Linked DNA regions of Homo sapiens: regions 1, 2, 4, 5 and 6 are each linked to region 3. Evidence: promoter capture Hi-C in 16 types of primary human blood cells and fetal thymus (Javierre and others, 2016). All regions are on one chromosome and are shown on one strand. The core of a region is centred on a gene start or on the middle of the fragment in contact, and the rest is flanking DNA. Distances in the headings are between cores, read along the strand shown. Region 1 overlaps LOC101929719 (a long non-coding RNA gene). Region 2 overlaps PURA (purine rich element binding protein A). Region 3 holds the start of PSD2 (pleckstrin and Sec7 domain containing 2). Region 4 has its middle 12 kb from the start of NRG2. Region 5 has its middle 17 kb from the start of MALINC1. Region 6 has its middle 23 kb from the start of IGIP.

What was found. The method cuts DNA at HindIII sites, captures the fragments that hold promoters and counts their contacts. A CHiCAGO score of 5 or more calls a contact.
Region 1: a contact is called between a fragment that was not itself captured here and the fragment with the promoter of PSD2 in region 3, in 5 of 17 cell types (endothelial precursors, M1 macrophages, neutrophils and 2 more). The highest score is 8.5, in endothelial precursors.
Region 2: a fragment that was not itself captured here is called in contact with the fragment with the promoter of PSD2 in region 3 in 1 of 17 cell types (erythroblasts); the score reaches 5.3 in erythroblasts.
Region 4: a fragment that was not itself captured here is called in contact with the fragment with the promoter of PSD2 in region 3 in 2 of 17 cell types (M0 macrophages and M1 macrophages); the score reaches 5.3 in M0 macrophages.
Region 5: a contact is called between a fragment that was not itself captured here and the fragment with the promoter of PSD2 in region 3, in 1 of 17 cell types (endothelial precursors). The highest score is 5.0, in endothelial precursors.
Region 6: a fragment that was not itself captured here is called in contact with the fragment with the promoter of PSD2 in region 3 in 6 of 17 cell types (neutrophils, M1 macrophages, M2 macrophages and 3 more); the score reaches 7.8 in neutrophils.

What each region holds. Positions count from the first base shown.
Region 1 is chr5:140,166,460-140,169,159 of GRCh38, reverse strand. LOC101929719 (a long non-coding RNA gene) reads right to left here. Exons shown (of 5, transcript NR_130738.1): 3 at 1,687-1,795; 4 at 1,358-1,479; 5 at 375-523. Among named protein-coding and RNA genes, the nearest start is that of CYSTM1, 7.4 kb to the left of the region's middle. The HindIII fragment of the contact is 2,022 bases long and covers 342-2,363 here.
Region 2 is chr5:140,120,635-140,123,334 of GRCh38, reverse strand. PURA (purine rich element binding protein A) reads right to left here. Exons shown (of 1, transcript NM_005859.5): 1 at 1-2,700. Among named protein-coding and RNA genes, the nearest start is that of IGIP, 4.0 kb to the left of the region's middle. The HindIII fragment of the contact is 655 bases long and covers 1,089-1,743 here.
Region 3 is chr5:139,794,485-139,797,184 of GRCh38, reverse strand. It overlaps PSD2 (pleckstrin and Sec7 domain containing 2), which reads right to left and starts at 1,377. Exons shown (of 15, transcript NM_032289.4): 1 at 1,210-1,377. RefSeq lists a silencer at 1,659-1,858. The HindIII fragment of the contact is 8,840 bases long and covers 1-2,700 here.
Region 4 is chr5:140,054,443-140,057,142 of GRCh38, reverse strand. No RefSeq gene overlaps it. Among named protein-coding and RNA genes, the nearest start is that of NRG2, 12 kb to the right of the region's middle. The HindIII fragment of the contact is 572 bases long and covers 986-1,557 here.
Region 5 is chr5:140,089,946-140,092,645 of GRCh38, reverse strand. No RefSeq gene overlaps it. Among named protein-coding and RNA genes, the nearest start is that of MALINC1, 17 kb to the left of the region's middle. The HindIII fragment of the contact is 1,427 bases long and covers 656-2,082 here.
Region 6 is chr5:140,147,406-140,150,105 of GRCh38, reverse strand. No RefSeq gene overlaps it. Among named protein-coding and RNA genes, the nearest start is that of IGIP, 23 kb to the right of the region's middle. The HindIII fragment of the contact is 3,283 bases long and covers 1-2,700 here.

The DNA of each region.
Region 1 (2,700 bases), core at 103-2,602, 370 kb before region 3:
TTTCTCCCAGGCTGTGAGTCAAATGACTATGGCAATGAAGTTCCGTCAACTATGAAGCATCCTTCTGCTTTTTAATCTTTTCAGTAATTAAGAAAATAAATTCAACACATATAAATTAGAAATAATCAGCTTATAAGTCTATTTGCATTTATATTTTTAAAATGGACCGATGACTTAGCACATGACATAAGAAAATAAGTCAGGGAAATATTAAATCCACATATTCATTCAACACATTTACTGAGGGCCTATGGCCTACCATGTGCCAGGGACTGCTCTAGGCCCTGGGGATGTAGAAATAAGCAAAACAGATTTTTTAAAGTCCTTGTGCATATGAAGCTTACATTCTAGTAGGTGTGTCCATTTATATACAGTCTTCAAGTCTCTGTGCCATTGACAAGAACTAGTACTATATACCAGGAAGCATGCATGGCGAATCCTCAGATTCCTCTATGCTAGGCTTTCTGCCAGTGCTCTGCATACATCATCTCATTATTCTCTTCTTCCTAAGAGATGTAGACACCTGTTCAAGGAGCCACAGGAAATGAGTGGTAGGGTCAAGACCAGAACACCTATATCTATATCTGCCTTTTAGCTCATATTTTCTCTTGGGGTGTGGTTGCGGGGGATGGTGGGAAGTGGTAGGGACTGAGGCATATCAGATAACATGCTCTGTGCAAAGGGAGCACTACTCATTCAGATCCAGCCACTTGACATTCAGGAATATAACTCAATGTGGCCAAGTTTTCTGATTTTTCAAGAGAAGCCAGCAAACAGGATTTTGACATGAAAACCAATTTCAAAATACCATGAAAGCCAAACCAAATTTGTCTGGGTACAACTAAGGCTACAGATCTGCCCCTCTGTTAGAGGTCATGCTGTGACCAGGAGGGTGCCTGGGGAGGTAGGATTCCAGATAGCAACCTTGAAACTAGTTGGCCAGCCGGGCACAGTGGCTCATGCCTGTAATCCCAGCACTTTGGGAGTCCAAGGCAGTTGATCATTTGAGGTCAGGAGTTCAAGACCAGCCTGGCCAACATGGTGAAACACCATCTCTACTGAAAATACAAAAAATTAGGTGGACGTGGTGGTACACAACTGTAATGCCAGCTACTCGGGAGGCTGAGGCAGGAGAATCACTTGAACCTGGGAGGTGGAGGCTGCAGTGAGCCAAGATCATGCCACTGCACTCCAGCCTGGGCAACTCTATCTCAAAAAACAAACAAACAAAAAACAACGAAAAACCCCAGAAACTAAATGTGTGTAGAAAACTGCAAATACATCTGTGGTACTTACACAAAGTGTTTCTCAGGTTGATTTTCAAAGACTAAGGTAGAAAAATGGGGCCCTTATTTACCAAAAAAGCAAAGTCCTTTAATGAAAGCTACCAGGGAGGCAGCAGCTGGGGCGCTCCAACACCTAGCCATGGAGGAGGTTGGCATGGAACCATCTGATGCTGGGCTGACAGGCCACGCTTCTCTGAAAAGGAAAATTTAACTTCAGGGTGGGCTTCATGTTACATCTGAGGCCCTAATAATGATCATTATGCTGTCAGCACACAAGACATGGTTCAAAAAAATTCTCCTCCTTAAAGTCACATTCTATGTGCTTTCTGGTCCTTCCTAACCTCCTCCACCCTGTGGCCTCCCACACTCAACACAACTTTCCTTTTCCCCACCCACTTGCCAAGGAACTGCGGCCATCAGACAACATATGGAGGTCTCATCACCGGGATGGTCCGTAACTGGAAAGGAGTTGGTCATCTGGTGTTAGCAGCTCCTCTTTGTGTCGTAGCCTTTGGAAGGAAAGAGGGAGGAACACAGAATAGCGTCCATGTTTAAAAAACATTTGCACCATCAACAGACTGAAACTCTACAAGACAGTGGTCTTACTTTAAAAGTGTAAAGGAATTCCCATCCTCTTGATCTTAGCAAGATCAGAAAACCTCTGTTTACTACAAGAATTGTTTCAGAAAGGGAAGTGAAATCTGGCACATGAAAAATCCCATTTCTATCCACTCTCAAGATAGTAACTTTGTAGCCATATGCCATGTGTATTTCATCATAGCAAAACAGTACTGTAGTGCACTGGGGACAGATTTGCTGCCACTGCTGCTGCTGCTGCTGCTGCTGCCATCACCACCTCCACCACCTCCTTCTGTTGCTTGGATAAAGCTGAGGCATGTGGCACTGTTGTGAGATTCTTAGAAGATACAGGCAAGTAGTCCTGGCTAGGACCCTACAATTGAGTTTGCACCATGAGGCTCTAAATCTCAGCCTCTCTAGGTCCTGGTACTGTATCTTTGGAAGACACACACAGGAAGGACTTAGATACCTTCTGAAAAAGATGGGACAAAGAAAGCTTATACTCCTCCTCTCCCCTCCTCTTGCTTGGAAGATCATTTAAGATTAAGAGATGAAGTGACTTTTCCCACTGAAGGGGACACAGGGCAATGCTATGATTCGGAGTGTCCAGAGGCCTGTGTTCCAGCCATGGTTCCCCTATGTCCTCACCTTGGGACCCAGCACTACTTACTCCACCTTTTTGAGTCTCAGTTTCCCCATCTAAGAAATGGGAATAATAATAGGACCAACCACATAGAGCTGTTGTGAGGGTTAATTCATTGAGATGCTGAATGGTAAGAGAGGCTTCCTTTGCACAGAGCTTGTTCTCTAGTTTACTGCAGCCTCCAGTAATCCC
Region 2 (2,700 bases), core at 167-2,666, 330 kb before region 3:
CCCTAACAACTATATGCAGCATGGAAATGGGCTATCATTTATCTCCACTGACTAGACTTAAGCCTTTCAAGGACTTGTCTCACAGTCATTTAAATCACAAGTTCTTGACACAGGTTTGGGAATTCACTTCTTTTTAAACAAATTTCTAAGGGAGGGGCTATTTAAGAAGGCTTTGCATTGACTTAAATGAGTTATAGTATATAACTATTATAATTTAAAATCTGACACAATAAAATGTGAAAATTATACTAAAGTGCCAACTCTACAAAATAAGCTATAGTAAAAATAATCCTGCTATTGTTAATGAACCTGACATTCGTAAAAAAGAAAAATTACCTTCAAAGTACAAAATCAGAACCACTTTTTTGCTATTTTTAAAAGAGATTTTTATCACTAATATATAGAGATGTGAGTAAAATGAAACTTCAAAGTAATCTGTCCAAATCACCAGGAATAAATCCATACTAAATTTGACAACAAAGAGTTAATCCAAACATACTTGAATTATGTAACTTAAAAACAAACATTACAGTAATTATTTATCTTAAATAATTTAAAACACTACTGGAATAATGGGAACAGAAATCTAAACACTATCAGCTTACCCTACAAAGGATATAAGAACCTCCAAAATGTACTAACTTATTTTATTAACATTTGCCACCACTGAACTCTTGGGAATACTACAATTTTAAAGTAAGAGAGAAAGTAGGGAAACAGAAACATGAGTTTGGGGGGTATGTTGTCTAATTTTAGAAATACAGTATTATTGAGGGCCTCATAAGGTCTACAAGGTTAAATGGTTGCTACGGATGCAAATGTAAAAGAAATAAAAAAGACACCTAAAATTGCAAGTTAGTGTTTTTACCTGGTTTATTGTCTTCTAAGAAATTTGTGTGGGCCAAAGTCTCAAAATTCTATAAAAGCAAGGAATAATATGTGTCTTTGTGGAGTACAAAATCAAATAATTTGATCTAAGGACCATTTGAAAAGTAAAGGTAAACTACATTGTAACAAGAGCCCAAGAAAATAGATAGTATGTGTGATAAATATTTCTGATAGTTTAAAAAGAATAATGGTGAAAAGCTTGAAATTTTCTTTTCCTCAAAATAATAACTCCCCAGCATCCACTTGCCTTGACCAGAAAAGCTGTCATTCCACAATTGTGCTAATTTGTCCCAGAAAAGCAGACATCCTATACATGAAAACAGACTTGTATAATGCATGATCATTATCATAACTCTAGCTATAGTAACTAACAGCTTTCTCATAATCAATGAGGGACCCATTTTCTCTGGCTTTATTGAAACTTCCTTAGTGAAGATCAACTTCATTTCCTTAGCAAATAACTCTCATTCGGACTCCATCATAGTACCTTTTCCTACCTCTAGTAAAAATTCCTCTCACTTTATTTCCAAACCATTCTCTATATACCTCTCAAACCCCCATCCACAAACACATTAAACAGCTCTCCTCGTCCTACTCTCCAATTTCCAAACCAGTAAGTCTCAGTTCCCAGTAACTTACCTAAAATACACATACTTCTTACTCTCTTCAGTTCACAAGTTTCTTAACATTAATTTAGATACCTTCAAACTGCCAGCTTAAGACTATGGGGAAAATAGCAATCAGAAAAAAACTGCCCAGTTACCTCATAATACTGAAATTGTTCTGGATCATCAGTTAGCTATGTTCTAAGGCAGGAGTCAGAAATTTCTTTACTTCTCTCTGAAGAAGTAAGCTTGAGTGCCACTGGTAGGCCTACAGCAAGAGTAAAAGTGGAGAGAGAAACAAAGAAAAAGGATAGGAGAGAGAAGATGCCAGATGTACATGGTAAGGAGGTAGGTCAAGTACCACCACCAACTACCTGCATTTAAAATTGCCAATCCACTCCAGCTGAATGGGAGTTTGACCCAAACTCAACATGTGTCTGATAAGTCATTAGCTGATGGCTATCATTGTTTGAGCTAGTCAAGATGAATAGGTAATTCACCTGTCCCATAACTTTAACTGCCACTTCACGATAAGGACATATTTTCTTAAATCCTCCTAGGATCCTTCTGTGTTAATAATCTACCTTAGACCAAAACACACACTAACAAGAGTATTTCCATGTTTTTCACAATTCTAAAATAGAAGGACTTGGTCCTTGAACTTGGAGGCCTCTTGAATTATTAAAGTGGAACCAAAATCAAGAAAATTAAACTCTTTAGCTTAAACATTTTTCCATCTAATGCTACAAAATAAGCTAATTGCTAATAATTATCAAAACAATGTGTGTATTTATGAAAACATGAAAATCCTGTGATTCCAAAATGAGTGAAATACTTCTGATGTGTAAGAAGCAACTATATTTTACATAGAGGATCACCACCATGTTTCTGCCTATCAACAGGACAATCTTCCACAAAAGCAAAGGACATCAGGAAGGAAAAACACAAAACAAAACAAATACCAAACGTGGGGACAAAATAAAAATGAATGAGTAGTTATGACATTCTTGTTAAGAAAAATGTTAACAAGTGACCTTTGCCACACTCAGCTTTCCTAAAGACATAAATTGCCTGGACCATTCAACATCAAAACTTGGTAGTTAGCTTAGCAGATTCATTGGCTTGAAACCAATCATTATTTCTTATTTCATCTGGTTGTTCTTTTATCATGAAATTCTACCTGACTCATGCTAATTCTGGCTTATTT
Region 3 (2,700 bases), core at 128-2,627:
TACTGATTCGGAGATCCCAGGCCCCAGAACTTGTAGCTTCCCTGGGAGACAGGTTCCTAAAGTCCTGGGGAGAGGGTGGAAGAATGAAAGAACGACTGCAACTGCCCTGGGCCACGGGTTGGGTTTGGAGGCAGTCCCAGCCCAGTGAACCCCCCCACCCCCAACCACTATTAAGCAGCTCTTGTTTGTAGGATCTAGAAAAAGGAACTGGGGAACCCAGGAAAGTCCAAACCCAGGCTGCCCACCTGCCCTGGCCAAATCCTGAGCCCTCTCGCTGATCCCCATCAAATTCAGCCTGGCTTATCCCCAGGCTGCCAGGAGTCTTAGGCCCTCTTCCATTGTGACTGCTGCTTCTGCTCCCTGTTCTCTTCCTGGCCCCCCCAAGATGGCCCCAAGACAAAGGGGTGGGCTTGAGACAGTGGCCCCCTGGGCCTATGCAAAAACAATGCCCCCAGTGATCATTCCGGGGAGTCCCTGCATCCTCTAGGAACAGCTGAATACCTCCTCCTCCGAGGGGGCCCGCTGGGCAGGGTTGTCCCCAGTCTGGACTCCCTCTGCACCCAGCCCCAGCAGCCCGCTCCTGGGACCCCTCCCTCCCGCTGCCGCCTCGGCCATTATGTGCCTCCTCAGCCCTGACTGCCACGCCCCCGTGCGAGCCCCCGCTCTAGCTGCAGAGCCGGGGAGGCCTGGCCGCCAAGCAGGGCTGTCAAAGTTGGGAAACTGGAAACAGAAATAAATCCTCAAAGCTGCAGCCTCGTGAAGGTGGCTGCCGGCAGGCCCCGGTACCCAATGCCCCGATCCCCGACCACCAGGCTGCCACTGGCACCCCCCACGCACACGCGTACCCCCAGATTATACAAAAGCGGGGAGAGGGTAGTGGGTGGCGGAGCCGGGAGACAATCGGCCCGGCAGCCCCCACCGTCCCTCAGGCTGGGCTCGGGCTTTCCCGCGGCGCCCCCTCTCCCCGGCCCAGACCCGGCCAGCCCGGGCTTCCTCTCTCGGCCCCATCTCCATGACAACCGTATCCTTCGGATGCTCCAGACGCCGCGGAATTGATCTGGAAATGTAGCTTTGTTAGCGGACCCGGGTGGGCACCGAGGGCGAGGGCGACGCCCCCCACCCGCACGCGGCCCTCTCCCCGGCCCGTCCCGCCCCGGCCTGGCCGCCAGCGGGGAGGGGCGGGTCCCGGAGCCCCGCGGCCCCACTCACCGCTGCTGGTCCCCGCCGCGGGTCCGGCCTCTCACGGCGGGGCCATCGGAGGCCGCCGGGCTGCCTGTCCCGCCCCGCCGCCGCCGGTCGGAGCTGCCCGCGCCCGCCCGCGTCCCTTCAGGTGCCGGAGCCGCGATGTGGAGAGGCTGAGCGAGGGGGACGGACGGCAGGAGGGAGGGAGCGGAGCCGTGAGCTGGAGGAGGAGGAGGAGGGAGGAGCGGGAAGGGCGGGGAAGGGCGGGGGCACTGCGGGCGCGCGAGCGGCGGGCGCGGAGCCCGGAGGGAAGCGCGGCCCCCAGCCCTGTCCGCTTGCAGCGCAGCGCTCGCCCCGGGACCCCGAGCGTGCCGGGGAGAGCGCGGCCCACCTTGTCCCCCTCTGCCCCGCGCGGGCCCTTTAAGAAAGGGGGGGAGGGGAGCGCCCGGGGTTCTGCCCCCTCCTAGCCACGCTGGGCCCCTGCCGTCCTCGAACCCTCGGGCAGACCCAACCACCTCCGCCCTCCAGGCAGGACCCACCGGTCTAGAACCTGAGCTCTCGGGACCCGCCAGGCCCTGGAGGTGAAGGAGGGGGCGGGTCCTGGCCCTCCTCCCGCGGTCTGTTCAGGGAGTGACCCCTGCCCCCAGCCCCCCGACACACACGCCAGCCCCCGGGAGACGCCGCCAAGGGAGGAGCAGGGAGTGCGGGGGGCCAAGGTGAAGAATCTCAGAGAGGGAGACTGAGCCCCTGAGACCTAGAGTCACACGGGACGGGACGGAGACCTGGGCTGTGGGGTGAGAAGGAGCCTCGGGACAGAGTGGGATGGGAGGAGGCAGGAGAGAGGAGAAAGAGACAAAGGAGAAAGAACCTGAGGGAGGCGGGAGGTGAGGGGTGGGTCCAACCAAGAATCCACATCCCTGTGCCAGGTCAAGGGGAAGCCTCCCTGGGCAGATATAAGGAGACAGAGAGAGACAGAGGGTGCCCTGGGCAGAGGAAACCATCTCCCAAGGCACCTGTCCCACGGTGTCTCCCCAAGGGCAAGTCAAGGCCCTGAAGCCGCCCCCCTCAGCCCAGGACTCTAACTGAAGAAGAGGGTTGACTGGCTGTACCTGGGCTAGACATTAAGAACTTCCTGGCTGTGAGGCACCTGCAGAGTAAGAGTCCGCCTCTCAGAGAGGCATTAAAGGGCCCCCACCCACAGGGATCTAAGGAGGGCGTGGGGAGCAGGCCCAGTGCCTGGGAGAAGGGAAATCAGGATAGAGTCAGGCCCTGCCACTGGAGGCCACTTTCTACCCCTCTCCCCTACTCCAGCCCCTGGGGGGTTCACCACACCCAGTTGCTTCCATCTCCAGACCTCAGCAGATGATCCACACTCTGCCCGGTGGGGCCTTGATCCTGCTGTGCTCAGTGAACTCCTACTGAACCCTCAAATTCCTCCTTAAATGCCCCTTCCTTCATGAAGTCTTCTCTGACCTTCTTTCCACCCATGAACACACAAACATGGACTCTTCTTAGGGA
Region 4 (2,700 bases), core at 22-2,521, 260 kb before region 3:
CTTACAACTAAAATATAAATAGCCACATGTGGTTGGTGACTACCACATTGGACAGCAAAGCCTGGTGTCTCACTTGTAGCTCATGGAATTCTGCTCCTCTTTTTCTCTAGATGATGAAAAACCTGAGCTGATGGACAATGCCCGTAAGTGTATTGTGATATTGCAGCTCAGGTTTTTCATTAATGTAATTACTACAAATAAATACTATATGATAGTACTTAGTAGTGTACTATAAGATAGTAAATATCATATAATATTTATTTGTAGTAATTTGATTAATGTTGTATCCCTCACTGGATCGCAGGCTTCTTAGGAGTAAGGACTTTGTCTGCTTTTTCCTCACTTTTATATTATGCCCGGCACCTAGTACAGTATCTGGAACATAGTAGGTGCTCAATAAAGATATGAGTAAATGAATGAATTAAAGAGTATCCAAACATCTTTGATATAAATGAGAAATGAGGACTCCACTATCTGCTGTGTGTGTGTGTGTGTGTGTGAGAGAGAGAGAGAGAGAGAGAGACAGAATGAGAGAGAGATTGATTCTGGAGAAGAATCTAAACATATGGAGAGGAGACAAAGACCAGGTTATTAAAGAGAAATATAATTGATTGCATAATACTTCAGAATCAGAAAATTGGCTTTATTAATAGTAAGACTCTTATTAAGCATTTACTATATGGCAGACTGTACCCTAAGTACTTTACATGAAGTATCTCATGTAATCCTCATAAGCTAACACTGTAGAATACGTACTATTATTATCCCCATTTTACAGATGATATGGAGGATGACAGGAGTAATTTGCTGGAGGTCACACAGCTAGTAAGTAGTAGAACATGCATTTAAACCCAGGCAGTCTGGGTTCAGAGCCTACCTTCTTAACCACAATGCTGTATTGCCTTCTGTTTGATTATGTCCATATGGTGACAGAAGCTTAGTGACCTCAAATGTCTGCATCAGTTCTTTTGTCTAAATTTAAGCTTCGGTAAGCCAGTATCTCCTGGAGGTTTAGCCTCTTTCCAGTGGTGCACGTGGAGGGGAGGTGGGAATAGTAGTATAAGGATAATAGGATATGAAAATCTGTACTGGATTCTTTTTTCTCAAAGAGTCAAACAAATATTTTTATATCTAGGATTTTTTGCCTTCTAATAATAAGGGGAAAATAAAGGCTTCTCTTGAATAAAACAAAATGCAAAATAATATCTCCCCCTTTTCCAAATCTCTGGTCTAGTAAGAGAGATGAATGAAAGCTAAGAGTTACTGTTATCTTCGTATGAATGAGAGTTTTACTTCGCTTTCCCTCTCCCCTTCCCTCCTCTCTATCATAAATTTAGTGCTCCATAAATAGTCCAAGGTTGGCATTCCTATTTAGGTGCTTCTTTGTTTCATGTAAGAATAGCTTATCTTCCTGCGCTAGTTATACTGTTTGCCCCCAGACTCCCACCCATCAGATTCACTCTTTGCCCTTCCCTGTCCTGCCTGGAACCCTGTACATTGACCTCTGTGGGTTCCCTCATCCTCTGGCTTCTGACTGTGGTTCATTCAGCAGAAGCTTGGCATGGGGGTAGGAGGAAGAGCAGAAAGGAGAGACTAGATTGTTTCTTCCCCCTTCTTTCTCCCTACTTTAGTGCCACATTCTTGCAGGAGCTGCCTGACGGCCCCTTCGATGTGGCTCCAGTACTTACTGGGATCTGGTGACACTTCTTCTTCACCTCACCCCTGTATGTCGAGGGAAGGGAATGTTTTACCACTCTTGCAGGCCCCTGGGTGTCTCTACTGAGTCTTGTTTCCCTTAACTTGGCCCACATCTTTGTAGATAGTCCCTTTAATAAGTTATTTTCAGTAAACTGTTTTGAATAGAATAGTATTTCCTGCTTGGGACTCTGCCTGATACATTTTGCCTCTAGTGGTTTTCAATTTTCTTAATGGCTGGAAGATGTACTTCCAAATAGATATAAGATTAAATAGGTCTCAGGTAGATTGTTCCACAAACTGGATTTTGAGATTGTGTCGCTTCGTTTCCAACATTGTTCAGGGGAGAGATAAGCTGAATGTAGCAAGCATGTGTACCCTGTTACATGTATCAGAGATAGCTCATCAGGCTTTTTTTTTTTTTAACACCTTGAATGAAATGAACTCAAGATTATTCATTCCCTTTGCCCAGAAACTCTGATCATCGAGCAATCTTGTGATTACTAAATTGGTTTCCTAGGTATTGTGATCCAGAGAAAGGGGTATCTTGTAGGGTGGACACCAACAGTTCAGATCGTGGAAAAGTTTAATCCTCTCTTATATTAGTCAAATGGATTTCTTTAAAGAAAAAAAGGAAGAATACAGTGTCCCTTCTTCCCCTTCCACATGCATACCACCTTTTTCCTTTCCAGCTTGCATTCCTCTTTTCTCTCTCTTTTTGGTTTTTGTTTTCGCTTATGGCTTCAGCCCTGTGTTAAAATGAAGATTCCATTACTCAGCTCTATAAACTAATCTGTATCCATTCTTCTATACTGTGCCCATGGTCTGTCTTCCTTCCTGTTTTGATAAAAGAATAATTTTTCTTGTCAAAGACCAGCTCCTCTCTTTGTGCTCTTACGCTCATCTCTCTTGTTTTCTCAAGGATTTCCATTCCTCACTTACTATCCACTTTCTCCCACAACAGTTTCTTTCTTCTTCTTAGAACATTCCCATTGCCATTTGAGC
Region 5 (2,700 bases), core at 120-2,619, 300 kb before region 3:
AGGTTGCAGTGAGCCGAGATTGTGCCACTGCACTCCAGCTTGGGCGACAAGAGTGAAACTCCGTCTCAAAAAAAAAAATCTGAATATATAAGTAGAAATAAAAAGGAATTTCACTAGAAGACAGCAAAAGAAAAGAGCGCCTAATAAAAATAAATGAAATACACATGCTACAACATGGTTAGACCTTAAAAACATACTATGTAAAATAAGTCAGTCACAAAAGACCAGATATTGTATGATTCCATTTATGTGCGATGTCCAGAATAGACAAATATAGAGAGACAGAAAGTAGATTGGTAGTTCCCTAGGGCTCTAGGGTTAAGGTAGGGTTGGGGGTGATGGCTGGGTGTGGGGTTTCTTTTGGAAGTAATGAAAATATTCTAACATTGATTGTGGTGGTGGATGCAAAACTAAATATACTAAAGCCATTGGATTGTACACTGAAAATAAATGAATTGTATGGTATATGAATTATATCTTTAAAAAGCTATTTTAAAAAACACTGCAGCCTTTGTCTTGAGCTCTCTCTTCTCTCACTTGTTCTGAGGGAAGTCAGCCTCCTGGTCTTGGGGACACTCAGGCAACTTGCCTATGGAAAGGCTTTCATGGCAGAGGACTGAGATTTCCAGCCAACAGCCAGCAAGCAACTGAAGCTTGCCAATAACCTTGTAAATGATGTTTGCTAATCTGTTGGTGGAAAGTAGTAACTTATTAAAGTTTTAACATGCTGTTTTCTAATTTAAGTGATATTAGGCATATTTTAACATGTTTAAAGATATTTGTATGAGGAAGACAAGAAATAAAAACACAGACTCCATATTCAATGACATTAGGAAACATCTTTAACCCGAAGGCATAGTATATGAAGGCTAAAAGTGGATGGAGAAATGAAAAATGACTTAGCAAGGCAGAGGAAATTCAAACCTAGGTACTGCAGAGGAAGAGAACACCAGCAAGAAGCACACTAATTTGTCTTATGGAACCTCAGAAAGCCACAGCAGGTGAAGTATATGTGCAAGGAGGGAAGGGGCTGAAAGGGGCTGGATTATTGGAAGGTCTATATAAGGATCAGATAGGACCCAGATCCTTACTCCTACTTCCACCCCAAATAGACACTTTCCTCTCTTTCCCCATACAGGAGACAGAAGGTATCTTCTTTGGAAAAATTGAACTAGAAAGGATGTGGACTTGGGTATATCAGGCTCTAAGGAATGGGTATGAAAACAAGGATATGGTATAAAAACATAAAACTGAACTCTAAAGCAGAATGTTATGCATTTTTCCTGACCCAGCTTCAGAAAGCTAGCAGCCAGACTGTTGCTATCCCTAGGGAGGAGATAAGAGGATCCTTCTCTGGAGAAACTGAATTGATACAGATTAAATATTTTCATGTACATCAGCAGCTTCATAGTATAATAGAATTCGTTACATATTTAGAATGTAACCACCTCTCACCACATTCACTACTGCCATCCTGAATACCAGCCACCATAATTTCTTACTTGTACTGCTGCAGCATTCTCCTATCTCGTCACTTGCTTCTACCTTTATCCCTGGAGTCTGTTCTCAACCTAGCAGTCAGAACAGTCTTTTTATTACAGAGCCCAGATCATGTCATGCTTCTATTCAAAACCTTCTAGTGATAATAGGTCTCAATCAGAATAAAAGCCAATGTCCTTACTATGGCCTACGGGTCATATATGATTTGTTTCCTCTGCCCTCCTCCTCTCTGATCTTGTGTTCTTCTAGTCTCCAATTTGCTTACTCTAGTCCAGCCATTTCAGTGACCTTAGGAGAATGCTAAGCACTCTCCCAGTTCTGGGCCTTTGCATTTGCTTTTCTCTCTACTTGGAATGAGTTTCCCCCAGATATTCCCTTGGCTAGCTTTCTTACCTCCTTTAGATCTTGCTCAAGTATAATCTTAACAGAGAGGCCTTCCCCAGTCACCTATATTAAATAGCATCCTTCCCATCATTCTCTTTTAGCCTGCTTTATTTTCTTCATAGCACTTATCACTACCAGGTGTTATTATTTATTTGCTTAATCATTTGTTGTATATCTCCCTTGATGAAAATGTAAGCTTTTGAGGGCAGAGATTTTTTCCATTTTGGCTCACTGCCATATCCCAAGCATCTAGTATAGCACCTGGCACATAGTAGGTGCTTAATAAATAATTGTCGGGATGAATGAATCAATAAATCACTCAAAAGAGAAGGTAATATACTTTTCTCTTTTGATTGTTAATATGATTATCACAATAAGTTTCCTAATGTTGAACTATCCTTGCATTCCTGATATGATCTCACTTGGTCTGGTGTTTAATTCTCTTAAGATGTCACTGAATTTTGTTTGCTAGTATTTTAGTTACTATTTTCCATCATTATTCTTAAGTAAGATTTCTCAGTAGCATTTATTTAGTTGTGATACCTTTATCAGATTTTGTTCTTACATCTATGTTGGATTAAAGCAAAGAAGCATCTTTTGTTTTTCTTCTCAAGGCAGCCAATATTATCTTCCTGGAAGAAGAGAGGAGTTTGCTCTAACTTAAAGAACCAGGATTGGCTGGGCACAGTGGCTTATACCTGCAATCCTAGCATTTTGTGGGGATGGCTTGAGCCCAGGAGTTTGAGACAAGCCTGGGCAACATAGCAAGAACCCATCTCAAAAAAAAAAAAAAGGACCAGGATTATTTCAGTCCTT
Region 6 (2,700 bases), core at 37-2,536, 350 kb before region 3:
TCTGGCAGAAGGGGAGGCCGAGAGACCCACATCTGCAAAGGCCAGGGCCACAGGAAGAAAGCAGTGATATAAAGCACTTCCCAAAGTCCTAGGCTTGGGCCAAACTACGTATAGCAACTCAAGGGTTAATCCCCACCCCACCCTCATCAGTCTCATCCTAAAGAGAAAAGGAAGCAAAACAGAGACCACGGCTGCCTGAGGTGGCAGGCTGCCTTATCTGTTGTGGCTGCTGCTGGATAACCTGCGGCACTGCCATGGGTACTTGTGTGCCAGCTGAGGGACAGGCATTCCCAGGCGGGCCACCCTGGAGATCCCCCCTGGTGAGATCAAGAGGCATGAGACAGAGGCTATGCCCAAGGACTTAGGCCAGTTGGTGGCCCTGGACACATTTGCTCCTTAAGGCTGAGGCCTGGGTCAAGCTCCCAGCATTGCATAGCACCCTCCTCCCAGCCACCAGCCATGGGTTGGCACCCTGGTGAGGAGCTGGCCCTGCTGAGGGGCCCTGTACCCCTGTTCAGGGAGAACACAGGGATCCTCAGCCTTCTCTGAGCCAGCCTATGGTGGGTGGGCCTTGCAGGGGCTATCTCTTGCCCAGGTACTGGTATTCCCAAGGTGGTCTTTGGCTGCGTGGGTGGCACAGTCCTTACCTGGAAGCAGAGCAGCCTGCCCCACCCAGATCCATGTCACAGTGTAGAGTGGATGAGAAGTCAAAGCCAGGCAGGACCAGGCGTCTGGAATAGCCATTTTGTTGGATGGGTCCCAGGCCCAGGGCTCTGCTGCCCAGGCCCTGCCATTCTTCTGAGGGACAGGGGTGGGGAACTTATCCTAGCCAGGCCTTAAAAATGAGAAGGCCAGCCTGTAATCCCAGCAATTTAGGAGGCCGAGGCAGGCGGATCACGAGGTCAGGAGATCGAGACCATACTGGCTAACGCGGTGAAACCCTGTCTCTACTAAAAATACAAAAAATTAGCCGGGTGTGCTGGTGGGCGCTTGTAGTCCCAGCTACTCGGGAGGCTGAGGCAGGAGAATGGCATGAACCCGGAAGGCAGAGCTTTCAGTGAGCCGAGATTGTGCCATTGCACTCCAGCCTGGGTGATGGAGAGAGACTCTGTCTCCAAAAAAAAAAAAAAAACAAAAAAAAAAAAAAAATGAGAAGGCCAGAGAACCAGTGGAGTGGAGGCTGGGGGTGGGTGGGGTGTGTGAATGTCAATGTGCCAAACCTCATCACTCCTCTCCTAGGAGTTCTTTCATTAAATGCCCCAATCCCAGCTCCTCCTCCCATGGTCCATGGAACACAGAAGGCTGGGACTCAGCGGCCGCACAAGCCTGAAGCCCCACCCCTTAGCTGGCCTGAAAACTTCAGTCAGTGACCATGCGGGGCACTAGAACCTCCTGCCACCAATCAACAGGAAGCAAGGAGAGATGCCCGGGTATCCTCAGAGAGGGAGGGGCCATGCAGAGGGGCTGGCAGATTTTCTCGGTGTGGGGAATGAGGGATAGGGCACAGGAAGGGACGTTCTCAAGGGTCTAGGGTCATGTTTCAGGAGGAAGATAAGCACCAAGCCAAGTTCTACCAGGTATATGCCTGGCTCCTGCACCTCCCATGGTCCTTCCCATTCAGCCGGGCTTCCTGTCTCCTGGCCTTTCTATAGGTGCTCAAAGCATCCTGTGATTCTCTTTATCATGGCTTATAATTCTCTGCTTGCCAAGTGGTTTGATTAATGTCTGTGTCCCCTATAAACCATGACTCTACACGGTGGCATTCTAAGGATGGCAGAATCCCCAGAATCCTATACTTGTCTTCATCGCTGTCTACCTAAGAACTTAGCACTCCCCAGGGCGTAGCACACAGTAGGTGCTCAGTGTACATTTTAGTGAATGAATGAATAAAGGAATAAATTTCCCCATCAACCACCATGAGCTCTAGGAGGGCAGTAATTGCTTCTTGTTTGTTTTTGCATCCACAACCCGTGGCCTGGTGCCTGGCACAAAGTAGGTTCCCATTAAATTGTGTGGGATACTCACAATTTGGGTATCTCTCCTGGGAAGAAAGGGGTCCCTGGCAGGGATAAGGAGAAAAGGCAGTGCTAACTGGAAGAGGGTGAGAGGTGAGGTTTGGGTGGCTGAACTGGGGTGCTCTTCCAGACAGGTTTGGGTGAATGGGGAAGCTCTGTGGGAGCCACTCCTGGTAAGCACTCACCTATGAGAAAATTTGAGGAAGACACAATACTGCAGCAAGGTAGTAGTCTAAGCCAGAGCCAGAGGCCATGGCCACACAGGCTATTCCCCCACCCCATTCCCAGAGCCTCCTAAGGGTGGGGACAGGAGCAGGGCTCCAACAAGTGCCACTCTTTAGACCTGAGGGTCTTGTGGTCATGTGAGGCTCTGGACTTCAGGTCACTCCTTGCCTTTGCAGGGCCAGGGAGTCTAAGACACATACGGGAACTGAAGGACAGAGGGAGTGGGTGTGGGGTCTTGCCCTGGGCTTGGAGTAGATCCCCTGTACTGTCTGCAGAGTGTCAGTGCTGTGTCCTGGGAGATGAGGCTCCCCTTGGGGATGCAGAGTCACTGAGGGCCTCTAAACATGGGATCAATTGCTGGGTCTATTTTTGATGTCTGGATGAAGTAAGGAGGAAATAGTCTCCTAGGACCCAGGTTCCAGATGCTAAAGAAAGTTAATGTCTGGAGTTTGCAACCCAG